2 separate regions of the Homo sapiens genome follow, and region 2 is linked to region 1. The links are contacts of gene promoters, found by promoter capture Hi-C in blood cells and fetal thymus (Javierre and others, 2016). All regions are on one chromosome and are shown on one strand. Each heading gives the region's core, a stretch centred on a gene start or on the middle of the fragment in contact. The rest is flanking DNA. Distances are from core to core; before and after follow the strand shown.

Region 1 (6,171 bases), core at 392-2,891:
TGGCGCATGCCTGTAATCCCAGCTACACGGGAGGCTGAGGCAGGAGAATCACTTGAACCCAGGAGGCGGAGGTTACAGTGAGCCAAGATCGCGCCACTGCACTCCAGCCTTGGCAACAAGAGCGAAACTCCGTCTCAAAAAAAAGAAAAGAAAAGAAAAGAAAAGAAAAGAAAAGAAATCAACAGTTACTAAATGCCACACAAAGTTCTGGGAAGCCAAAGACTGAGAGGTATCCGTTTTATTTAGCAACTTTGGGTGTCGCTGATCTTGTCCAGAGCAATTTCTGTGGAATAATGGGGCAAAAGCAAAATGGGAATGGATTACAAGAATGAAAAGAACGGGCCGGGCGCCGTGGCTCACGCCTGTAATCCTAGCACTTTGGGAGGCCGAGACGGGTGGATCATGAGGTCACGAGATCGAGACCATCCTGGCTAACACGGTGAAACCCCGTCTCTACTTAAAAAAAAAAAAAAAATTAGCCGGGTGTGGTGGCAGGCGCCTGTAGTCCCAGCTACTCAGGAAGCTGAGGCAGGTGAATGGTGTGAACCCGGGAGGCGGAGCTTGCAGTGAGCTGAGATCGCACCACTGCATTCCAGCGTGGGCGACGGAGTGAGACTCCGTCTCAAAAAAAAAAAATGAAAAGAATGTTCTTGTCTATTATTTTTCTACAATCATTAATTAATATATATATATATTAGGCCGGGCCCGGTGGCTCACACCTGTAATCTCAGCACTTTGGGAGGCCGAGGCGGGCAGATCACTTGAGGCCAGGAATTCTAGACCAGCCTGGCCAACGTGGCAAAACCCCGTCTCTACTAAAAATGCAAATATTAGCCGAGCATGGTGGCGGGTGCCTGTAATCCTAGCGACTCGGGAGGCTGAGGCAGGAGAATCGCTTGAACCCGGGAGGTGGAGGTTGCAGTGAGCTGAGATCACGCCATTGCACTCCAGCCTGAACGACACAGCAAGGCTCTGTCTCAAAAATAAATAAATAAAATTCTTAAAAGTTGATGGGAGAAAAAAAGTTGTTTAAAAAAATTTTTTTAAGTTGATGGGAGGTGAGGAAGCGTAGTTACTGATGGCCCCTTCTTGGATAAAAAAAATCTTTTGACTCAGGAAATGAAGAACAAAGCTGCAATTACAAGGGATCAAAGGCGATTTTTCCTTAAATGGAAGGAAACTTGTTATGTTCACCATCGGATCTCCGGGGCCCGGCACAATCTGGCCACTTAATAGGCATTCAATAAACCCCCGAGCTGGCTTGTGGTCGGCTTGCAGGACGCCGTCGCACAAGGACGGGCGCTGTAGTCTTTCCTTCTGGATTCTGCAGTGACGAATGAAGGCGCGGGCTCAGCCCCTGAGAGCGCAGCACCGTCGCCCTAAGCTAACCCACCTTGGGCCACGTGGAAACCAGGGGCCAGGAGGACAGACACCCGCGCGCCAGAGAAATACGGGGTGGGTGGAGAAAGGAATGCCCCACCCGCTGACAGCCGTTTCATCTCAGGCCTCCCAGTTTTCTGCAGGCCCCTCCCTACACGGCTCCTGCTTCTCTCACGCCTCGTACGGAACGGAAGTGACGTGTACGTCGCGAGCGATTGACGGAAACAGAAATTGCTTTGCGGCCCGCACGGAAATTGCTTTCCTTCGGCTTCCGTTCTTGGTCCATGTGAGAGAAGCTGGCTGCTGAAATGACTGCGAACCGGCTTGCAGAGAGGTGAAGGGCAACGAGGGGAGGGGGGATTCTGGGTCTCGTTGGGGGCCGGGTTCCCCAGCTTTTGGGAAATGGGAGCCCCCCCTTTAACAGATGGCAGTGGTTCCCCTGAAGAGCTGGCCATTCGTTCCTATTTTCCGCGATCCAGCCTTTAAAGCCCTTTTAATTTAATTTCATTCGCTTACTCCGCTCCTCAGCTGTATAGCCGCATCCCTGTTGGTCCTGATGCTGTTTCTGCCTCCCCAGCTCATTTACTGTGTTTCACATTTTTCGTCACGTGGCCCCTTTTTCTGCCTCTGTCGCGGCCCGATTTAATCCTCTGCGCAGGCAGTGCAGGCGTTATAAACTCCCCGAATCTTGGAAAGCTTTGCTGATTGGAGTCATCCACCACGTTTTGGCTCCTGTGATGTTTTGTGCCCCCCCCACCCCGCCCCCGGAACTAAATGTAGTCCGTTTAGTAATGTTGGCTTTGCAAATACTAATAATATATGCTGTTAGGTAATGGTACATTTTATAATTTGTTTGTGGGTACCAATCTCCTTAGTTAAGCACCTACTTTACTAAGCAAGCCCCAGGGAAAGTGGCTTACCCAGCTGCTTTCGACCTGTTTCTCCATTCCTGGGAACAAGGATCAAGATAACACTTTTGATTAGGCTGCCTATCAATGAGTCAAATATATGGAGGATGCTTAGAAATATTAATCGTGAAACTGCCTTGCCTCCAGGGCTAGCTAGCAACAGCGTCTTTGGCCATATTATTCTAGGGTCTGACATTTTTACAGCTTCCCATAGGTCATAGGAAATGTTGTGCCAATCCCTGAAAAGTGATAGCTCTTTTACATGCAGTTTTGAAGTCAGGCATCACTCTTGGAGGTGATGCCTGACTTCAGTCTAAATTTCACATCTTGACAAGTTTCCAAAGGCATTCACGCTGCTTTATATATCTTCTGAGGGATAGGGCTATTCTGTGCTGAAATTACAATGTTTTCGAGATTGTTTTAATAGATTAGACATTGCTTCAAATAATAATATTTCTTTTTTTAATTTCGACTTTTATTATAATTAAGGGATACATATGCAGGTTTGTTACATGGGTATATTGCATTCACATTTCTCTGTTGCCTCTTTTAACAGCCTTCTGGCTTTGAGCCAACAGGAAGAACTAGCGGATTTGCCAAAAGACTACCTCTTGAGTGAGAGTGAAGATGAGGTGGGTGACAATTGCTAAACTGCCTTCAAAATTAGGGTAGAGAGCACATTCCTGGAATGGAAGGGTGTGACAATGTTCTATGTATTTGTTCAGGTCTCTCAAATAAATTGCAAATGGTTAGTGTTTCATATATAAGATACTGTATCATATTAAGTGCTATGAGGATTTGGAAACTAAGTTACAATCACTACCCTCAAGTTGCATAAGTATAATTTATAAGACCAACCAAAACAGGCCCGGGTGATGGCTCATGCCTGTAATCCCAGCACTTTGGGAGGCCAAGGCGGGCAGATCACAAGGTCAGGAGATTGAGACCATCCTGGCTAACACAGTGAAACCCCGTCTCTACTAAAAATACAAAAAATTAGCCAGGCGTGGTGGCAGGCGCCTGTAGTCCCAGCTACTTGGGAGGCTGAGGCAGGAGAATGGCATGAACCTGGGAGGCGGAGCTTGCAGTGAGCCAAGATAACACCACTGCACTCCATCCTGGGCAACAGAGCGAGACGCCGTCTCAAAAATAAATAAATAAATAACAAGAGATTTTACATGAGACTCAATTTCCATGTTGTCTTTTCCCTCCCCCTCATCCTGATTGTTTTTCCTTTTCTGTGTCTTAGGGGGACAATGATGGAGAGAGAAAGCATCAAAAGCTTCTGGAAGCAATCAGTTCCCTTGATGGAAAGAATAGGTAACGTTCCCGTCAGTTAGGGCAGGTTATATAGTCAATTCCGTGAGATTTCTCTGCAGCTAATATTTATTGAGTGCTTCATGTAAAGACCTTAATACCAGTGCCTAGCATATAGTAAGCATTATATAATTAACTGTTAGCTGTTATTAGTCTTAGTGCTATTATTGTAAGCATTTGCAGTCTTATTCCACACTGAAAATCTTTTAAAGCATTGAGTAGGCATTATTTAACCCCATTAGAGAAATAAATTTACTTACCCCCAAGGTCACCTGGCTCATAAGTTACAGGTTCAGGTGTGTTTGAATCTAAGTCCAATATGTTTTCCACTATGCTTACCTTGTAATAAAGAGAAGAGATGAGGGTTAGACAACCAAGTCCAAGTTAGGAACAGATCTCCTTGCTGCATCATGACAAAACATGACCCTAGAAGAAATACAAGAAACCAAAGCCCTGTTTGAAGAGAGAAGTGTTTGTCTCTCCCAACCCCAAGCCCCCATAAAATTTATTCATTCCTATTATATCGTTTTGCCTAATTTCAGGCGGAAATTGGCTGAGAGGTCTGAGGCTAGTCTGAAGGTGTCAGAGTTCAATGTCAGTTCTGAAGGTAAGTTGAACAAAGGAAGATACCCATGCATGAAACCTGTGGAGTTCCAAGGGCATTGTGTTCACCTCACCCCCCCTAGGAACTGTTTTTGATGTGGTTAATGACTCATACCATAAATACCTGGGAGAGTGGGTGAAGAAGTGTAGTCAGATGCCCTTCAGTTTCTTCCATCTCTCAAAGAAAGCCTAGAAGGCTGTGGTCAAGGTATCCTACAGAGTTTGATGAGATACTTATAGGATAGATGGACATGAATAAAGACAGCTGCCTCTTAGTAACTTAGTCATAATTCATATTTGTACAATTTCATTTTTATTTCAGTTCTCTTAACAATGCTTTGAGTTAGGAGACAGGCAAATATTCTCTTCAGCCAGAGCTCAGAGAGGTCACATTACTTATTCAAGGGCCTTTGCCTAGTACAGTATTTCTCAACCTTTGCTTTTTTATTGCTCCCCTGAGAGGAGCCTTTCAAGCCTTTTTTTTTTTTTTTTTTTTTGAGACAGAGTCTCACTCTATCGCCCAGGCTGGAGTGCAGTGGTGCGATCTTGGCTCACTGCAAACTCCGCCTCCCAGGTTCACGCCATTCTCCTTCCTCAGCCTCCCGAGTATCTGGGACTACAGGTGCCCGCCACCGCGCCTGGCTAGTTTTTTGTATTTTTAGTAGAGACGGGGTTTCACCGTGTTAGCCAGGATGGTCTGGATCTCCTGACCTCGTGATCCACCCGCCGCAGCCTCTCAAAGTGCTGGGATTACAGGCGTGAGCCACCGTGCGCGGCCTCAAGACATTTTTTTCCTCATTGTATCCCTCCCCCTGTGCCCCTTCCCCAGGAAATCAAGTCCTAAGGAATAAGAGTTTGTTGGACAGAGTTGAGCCTTGGAGGGACACAAAACATTGTAATATCTAAGATTTTTTTCATACTCTCCCAGAAAGAACCAATTTTCACCCTGGGGTGGCGGGGTGGTAAAATTGCCCCTGTTCAGAATACATGCTCTAATAAGCGGCAGCCATGGGATTTTATCCTAATACTGAGTCTAGATGCCAAATCTTTTTCACCCTGTTCACAACTTAGGCAGCTAGAATGGGTCTTGCATTTGTAGTAATCACTGGTGTAGCCTCCTAGGGCAAATAACAATGTATTCCAAGCGTACTTATTCAGTGGATATTTATTGTGTTTCTACTAGGTAGCAGTATCAGGAACTGTTGTAGATACCAAGGTTAAAGTAGCGAATAAGATGTGAGCTCATGGGGTTTACATTCTAATGAAGGGAGACAATAAGAGAGGATGATGCAGTAAAGCAACTAAGTGGCTACTTTAGATCGGTTGGTCATGAAAGGCCCCTGAAGAGGCAAAATTGAAGCCGAGATCTGAATGACAAGTCAAGTCAACCATGCAAAGATTGGGGAAAGCATTTCAGGCCAAGGAACAGCTAGCACAAAGGCTCTAAGGTAGAAACATGCACAACATGTTGAAGAATAGGAAAGAGGCCCCTGTGACAAAAGCATTCTAGAGGGTGGGGGTTGATATGAGGTTAGAGAGGCAGATGGGGATTAGATCTCATAGGACCATGTCCTTTAGGTAGATGAGATTCAAAGTATAATGGGGAGTCACTGGAGGATTTTCAGCAGGGTCATGACATGCTGTGGTTTATATTTTCGAAAGATAATTTTGGGCTGGATACAGTGGTTTACACCTGTAATCTCCAGCACTTTGGGAGGCCGAGGTGGGCGGACTGCTTCAGCCCAGCCATTTGAGGCTGGCCTGGGCAACATGGCAAAACCCCATCTCTACAAAAAAAAAATTAAAAAAATTAACCACGCGTGGTGGCACGCGCCTATAGTGCCAGCTACTTGGGAGGATTGCCTGAGCCTGGGAGGCAGAGATGGCACCACTGCTCTCCAGCCTAAGTGACAGAGTGAGACCCTGTCTCAAAACAAACAACAACAACAGCAAAAAGATCACT
Region 2 (6,613 bases), core at 3,155-5,654, 260 kb before region 1:
CTCATGGCCTCATGAAGCTCCAGGTTAAAATGCACACGTTACCTGGGAGTATGGGAATTGGACAGGGGCAATAGTGAAAAATCTTTAATAGCCAGCAAGGTCTGGACACCAACTGATTAGAATGTTTGCTGGCCAGAAACACGCTATAGGGATGCACCAGCCCAGATAGAGGAAAACAGCAGCCCTGGATGTGGGCCTTGGCAGGGGCCGGGTGAAGGGAGGGTTTGCTCCCTGAGAGGTCCCATGAGCACACGCAGGAATCAGATCTGCCTATGGCCACCAGAAGGTATGAGATTTCCCACAGCAGCTGGTGGTGGGGGGGTGGGCAGGGTTGGTGTATCTGGTAGGGGGAAAACTGGTGGGAACATGGGGTTCACTGAGGGAAGAGCTCCTTGGGACAGCTCGAGGGCCAGACAGCCTAGGACAGTCCTGTAAGGATGCAAATGGGGCCTGGCCTGGCCTTGGAGACCCAGATGCTGCCCTCTGCCCTCACAGACTTCACCCCTGGTGCCTCTGGGTGGCAACTTCTCTCCCTCTCTCAGTGAACATGCATACGGACTATAATATGCTACACAGCGTGGAGCAAATATGCATACCCATTCGGTGTTCACACAAGCACATGCATGGAGCCCACGTATGCCCATGACCTGTAGAGGCATCCTCTCAAGTCAGTGGGGCACACCCACAAAATTGTTCAGACTCAGAATCTTGGAGCAGAAGCAATTTTAGAGCTGCCCCCATTAAAAAAGTCGTCTTTGATGAACGCCAGTCAGCCACTCCTCTACACACACTTTGGCGTTTGCTCGTTCTCACACCTCCTGCAGAACAGGAAAGAGGAGATGACCTCGGGAACTTTCTTAAAATGGCCTGTGCCTAGACTTGACGCAAGCCTGAAGAAGTCCCTGCAGTTCCAGGACTCAGCCAGCAGGGGGCAGCCTCTCATGACACACTGGGTTTCCCCCAAAGAATAAGCAGGCTTGGAGAAGAAAGAGAGGCCGACTGCAAAGAAAGGGAAACATATAAGAAGTTTCCAGAGTGTCCGGCCATCAAGCTGACCCAGATGCATGTAGCCAGCCACTCCTGTGGGTGAGGAATTCTCAGCCCCTCATATTCAGCTGGTGAATTGATAGAGTCTGGGGCAAGTTATCAGAAGAGGATGTCTTAGTGACCATAGTACATCCTGCTTGCCCAGCCTAGAGCCACAGAGGGAATCAGCCAGCACACAGGAGTTCAGTGGAATCTCTCATTCTGCAAGTCACAGCCTCTCTCAGGGCCTGCTTCGTTGTCTGTGAAATGGGTTTAACAATAAATCACATCTGCTTCCTCCCACCTTGGTGCTTTGGACACAAGCCCTGTGCTCCCTCTGCTGAGACCTCCTTTCTCCAGCTTAACCCCTACTCACTCCTGAGGTGTCAGCTCCCACTTCACCTCCAGGAAGCTTTCTCTGACCCCAGATCGTGCACTCAGTGATAAACTTCCTAGAGGCCTGTTTTTCGCCTCCAGGGCCCTTGCCACAGTTCCTGGTTAGACATTCGGTTGTGATTTTTGAATAACATCTGTTTCCCTCTCCAGGTATTAAGGAATGTGGTACAAAGTAGGCCCTCAATAAACATTCAGCGAATGCTGAGAAATGAATTCCCATAGCTCTTTTACAGATCAAAAAGCACTTTCACATGCAAACAGGGTGGTCTTCATGGTACCCGCTGAGAACGATGGGGTTTTTTCCCCGTTACACACACAGCACTCTCTACTGTACCAAACATTTTAACTTCAGAAACTTCAGTCACTAGAAGCCCGAGAGGGAGCCAGGGATTCTTACTTCCATTTTAGAAAAGGTAAAGCTGAGGCCTAGAAAGGTGAAGTGACTGACCCAGGCTTGGAACTTGGAGGAGTCAGGATGTTTAAGTCTCCGCATCCCATGCTGGAAGGTATGATCATTACATTCCCTCATTATCACTGTCAGCATCGTCACCTCCATTGTGGCTATGGCCATGCCTAGTCTGGTGAGGAGGTGTACAGTTGGCGAGCACAAAGGCTTTTGAAGGTGGCGGGCAGAAGTCTGGGTTCCAATTCTGGCCTCACCTGCAGGTGACCATCGGGGCTAGGAGAGCATCCAGGGAGGATTCATGGGGGAGGGGAGCCTTGGCTGGCAGTTGGAGGACCCGGAGAATTGGAGGAAGGTGGAGAACCTGGGAAGGGAAGTCTGGGGAAACTAGAAGAGCACTGGAAATGGGTTTTGGGTGACTTAGGCTGAGGCTTTCCCTGCTTCTGCTTCCTAAAAGATGGGTATGAAGCTCCCTCCCTCGCAGGTCCTGCTGAGGCCGGTGCGCAGGCTCAGGGCCAGGAGAACATCCCTGGGGTTGCGGGGGAGTGGTACAGAGGGCGCTGTGGCTACAACAGCTAATGAGGGATGTCACACCCTCACCACACACCTTTCGCTGGTGCCTCCCAGAGGAAAGGTGAGGACCAAGTCTTTCTCCACTGTTCCTCCTCCACTGTCCCTTGCATGGTGTCCTGCACAGAGTAGGCGTTTTTTTTTTTTCTTTTGCTGTTGTTTGTTTTGCTTGTTTGTTTGAGATGGAGTCTTGCTCTGTCGTCCAGGCTGGAGTGTAGTGGTGCAACCTCCGCCTCCCAGGTTCAACGGATTCTCCCGCCTCAGCCTCCTGAGTAGCTGGGACTACAGGTGCCCACCACCACACGCAGCTAATTTTTGTATTTTGTAGAGACGGGTTTTTGCCATGTTGGCCAGGATAGTCTCGAACTCCTGACCTCAGATGATCCACCCACTTCGGCCTCCCAAACTGCTGGGATTACAGGCATGAGCCACCACGCCTGGCCAAGGGTAGGCATTTTTTAGCTGATTGTTTTGGGGTAGGGGTAGGCCAAAGAGCTCTTTATAGGCTTGGGTTCTAAAAGTTTGGGCATAGATTGAGAGAAGGGGAGCTCCTTTTGAAACTTACACAAGGCATGGGACCTAAAACTTGACAGGCAATTTGGGAGTGGGAATGGGGGTGGGGCAGGCTGTGGAGCTGAGCTAGAGGGTAGCCCAGAGTAGAGGGAAGGATGAAAGAGGATAATCAGATCAGAAGGTCTCTGCAGTGCTGGAGGTGGAAGGGGCTGTGTGGTGAGATTCCCTCCTCCATCCCCCTGCACTCCTCACTGGGACCTTTTTCCTCCCTGCTTTGTTTATCCTCTCTTATCTTTCCATATCCCTCACATCTGAGGAGTTGGGAATTTCCAAAGGAGAGAGGAACTCCAGGCTTCCAGAAAGCTCAGGAGCCTAGAGACATGGGGGATGAAACCCCCCATAACGTATGCCAAAGTCACCAGCCTCTATCCCTACACCTGCTGGGGAGGGAGCCAGAGATGTCTCTGCCTAGATGGAAAAAGAGGCACCCTCTTTCCAACAGGCCTCTCACAGCCCCCAAATCACAAGCAGTTCTGTTGCCCTGGGACTGAGGGTGCCAAAGCGAAGCCCCTCCCCTACAGACGAGAGGTGACTGCAGCCCTGGAGGGAATGCTTGGCATTTCAGCAGTGCCTTTGCCTTCCTTTAAAGCAATGCCACCTTGTTTCTCTCAGTTCGTTTGCACATACCACAGAAGATCTTTAGACTAATGGCTTACCTTCTCAGTGACTCAGTTTCCTCAGCTATAAAATGGGATTGTGATGGGGACTGACTAAGTCAGGACAGGTGAAGTTCCTCAAACAGTGCTTGGCACATGAGAAGCGCTCTACATGAGTTTGCTAGGACTATCTAGCTATGTTCCTTAAGCGTTCACTTATCCTTTCTGAGTCCCACTTTCTTCATTTGTAAAAATAACAGGGCTTAGGGTACTGAATGATCTCTCAGGCTCATGTCAGCTCTGCCCTTCTATGATTCTGTGTGTTTAAGGTAGGGAAAGCAGAGATTGTCATCCTATGAAAATAGATGAGGGAGAACCAGGACCCCTGATAGATGAACAGACCTGCCTGGAGTCACACAGCCAGTTACTGACCAAGCTGGGGTTAGGATCCAGAGCTCAGAACCCCAAGTTTCACACCACCAGGCTAGCTCTGCAGCAGTGTGCCAATTTTTTAACATTCAGGGAAGATCAGAAAGCATTTAATTTGTGCAAAGGGAGAAGTATGGAATGGAGGTTCCAGCAGGCCCTGGGGTTATGGGAAGCTTGTGCAACCCACGTAACCCAGCAGTGGACTTCCTCACTGGCTTAGGTTCCCATTTTCCTGCCATATGCCTAATTCTTCTCCCAGAGCTCCTCCCTACAGGTCCCTGGGTCAGGTCCTGAATTGCCTCTGGAGGGCAGCCTGAATCACCCCCCACTGTTAGCTGGGACCCCAACAAATCCCTAGTCACAAGCAGGTGCTTCACATCTACCCACCCAGGTGTCCTGGGCAGGTGAGGAGGCTGAGACCCAGAAAGGGCCAAGGAAAGACTTTGCTAAGCTACCCAGCAAGCCCTGGGTAGAAGCAGATTCAGGACTGGAACCCACGTTTCTGAGCCCCTGGCCTTGTGCAGAAAGGAACCCCAATGGCCAAGCAGGTGTGCTGGAACAGGTGCCTGGCTCCACAATTCCAGACAGATCAGGTGCTAATGGTGAGCACTTAACACCTTTGGAGAGGCCTCCTGGGCTGCTGCCCAAGCTAAGCTTCTACAAGGAAAAATGCCGAGGACGTAATCTGTCCCTGGGGAGGCCCTAAAGGTTATCTGGGAGACCGGAAATTTCTAGTGACTGAGGCACACTCATGGTGGGAAAGAGGACCCTTAGCAGAAGCAGGGAAGCTATCATAGTTTGTTTTCTGTAGCCACAGACTGGGTAACTTATAAAAAAAATAGTTTATTTAGCTCACAGCTCTGGAGGCTGGGAAGTCCAAGGGCATGGCACTGGCGTCTGGTGAGGGACTTTTTGCTAAATCATGACGTGGTAGAATGGCATCACATGGCAAGAGGGCAAGAGTGTGCCAGCTCAGGTCTCTCTTCCTCTTCTTATAAAGCCACCAGTTCCATCATAGGGGCACAACCCTGATGACCTTATTTAATTTTAATTACCTACCAAAGGCACCACCTCCAAATACCATCAACATATGAATTTAGGGATTAAATTTCCAAAACATGAAGTTGAAGGATGCATTCAAACCATAGCAGCAGCTGACCTGAGCCGGGGACAGACCCAGGTTTGAAGCTCTACTCACCCATGAGTGGCTCTATGAATTTGAACAAGTGACCTCACCTCCATGAGCCTGATTTTTCATCTATAAATTGGGGTAATGATGGCTGCCCTGTCCAGTTCTCAGGGCTAGAATGAGGCTTAACAGAGATAATAATAGCTCCCACTTGGTAGGCTTGTAACATGGGCCGGGCACTGTGCCAAACACTTTCCCTGCATCATCGCGGTCAATCCTGACCACAGTGCTATAAATTGGGCAGCAGCATCCTGCCTAAAGCAGAAACATGGGCTCATCCAGATCAAGACCCTTGCTGCAAGGTCACACAGGTGAGTAAATGGTAGTGCCAGGATTTGAACCCTGATCTGACTCCAGACTTCCCCTTCCACTGGAATCACTTTGTTAGTATGATTATTATCAGAGGCCATCTCATAACCAGTGTATTAAATCACTTAATTCTACACCTTGCTGCAGAATGTAAGTCTTCCCCTTGGACTCCAGGCAAGGGTTCAGGGGCTGAGTTGAAGGGCTTGCTGATGCTTCATTTGAGACAGGGCTGGGAAGCCACCTGCTTTTATAAAGATTTTTTTGGAACACAGTCATGTCCACTGGTGTATGTATTGTGTATGGCTGCTTTTGCATGTGCCAAAAACTTTACCTGCATCATCACAGTCAATCCTGATCACAGTGCTAAAAAGTAGGCAGCAGCATCAAACTCAAAGAGGTTTGAGTTGAGATAGAGACCATATGGCTCAAAAAGTCAAGAAAACTATCTGGCTCTTTACAGAAAAAGTCTGTTGGCGGCTGATTTGAAACATTCAAGGAAGTGTCCTGGATGCGGCTTGGGCCTTTGGCTGAAGTCCAAGACAGCGGCAAGGGGAGTCCCTTGCTGGGCTCCTTCTCTGAGCACTGGCCACTGCATAGGAAAAGCTGGATTTTCAAAGGAGTCCTAGAGAAGAAGCCTTCCTTTCAAGAGTTACCAAGAAATGCTGGCTGAGTCAGCGGCCCTTCTCAAGCCAGGAGAGGAAGATACTGAGTAAATCTCTGCCATCTCCTTTGGCAGTTAGCTGGCACAGGCACACTCTGGTCAGAAAGAAACTTTGGATTGAGAAATTTCAGTTGAGTAACCTTTAGGCTTGGAGAATCGAATTCTATAAGGACTTCAGAATGGCTGCTCAGGCCAGGCCTCATGGTTCCCTCAATACGGAGGAGCCCAGCCCCTACAGGGGGTACCAAGCCAGCTAGGCCTACAGAAGAGTCTGAAATGTTAGATTTCTAAGCAGTTATGGCTCATTTTACACCACACCTGGGGTCCTGAAAAGCTGTGTGTGGTCTGAGTCTGTTTGCCTCCCTAATCTCTGTCATTTCAGAGGCTGCCTAATTCCGGATGGATTTGAAAGAGTGTTGGTTTTCAGATTCTCTGCCCCCACTCGTCAACCTCTCAGTTCA

What was found. The method cuts DNA at HindIII sites, captures the fragments that hold promoters and counts their contacts. A CHiCAGO score of 5 or more calls a contact.
Region 2: a fragment that was not itself captured here is called in contact with the fragment with the promoter of UTP14A in region 1 in 14 of 17 cell types (activated CD4 T cells, non-activated CD4 T cells, total B cells and 11 more); the score reaches 22.8 in activated CD4 T cells.

What each region holds. Positions count from the first base shown.
Region 1 is chrX:129,904,523-129,910,693 of GRCh38, forward strand. UTP14A (UTP14A small subunit processome component) reads left to right here and starts at 1,642. Exons shown (of 15, transcript NM_006649.4): 1 at 1,642-1,714; 2 at 2,845-2,920; 3 at 3,538-3,608; 4 at 4,148-4,212. The coding sequence starts at 1,689. LOC105373335 (a long non-coding RNA gene) reads right to left here. Exons shown (of 3, transcript NR_188631.1): 3 at 2,742-4,031. The HindIII fragment of the contact is 20,573 bases long and covers 1-2,074 here.
Region 2 is chrX:129,636,766-129,643,378 of GRCh38, forward strand. No RefSeq gene overlaps it. Among named protein-coding and RNA genes, the nearest start is that of APLN, 15 kb to the right of the region's middle. RefSeq lists a silencer at 837-1,006. The HindIII fragment of the contact is 481 bases long and covers 4,165-4,645 here.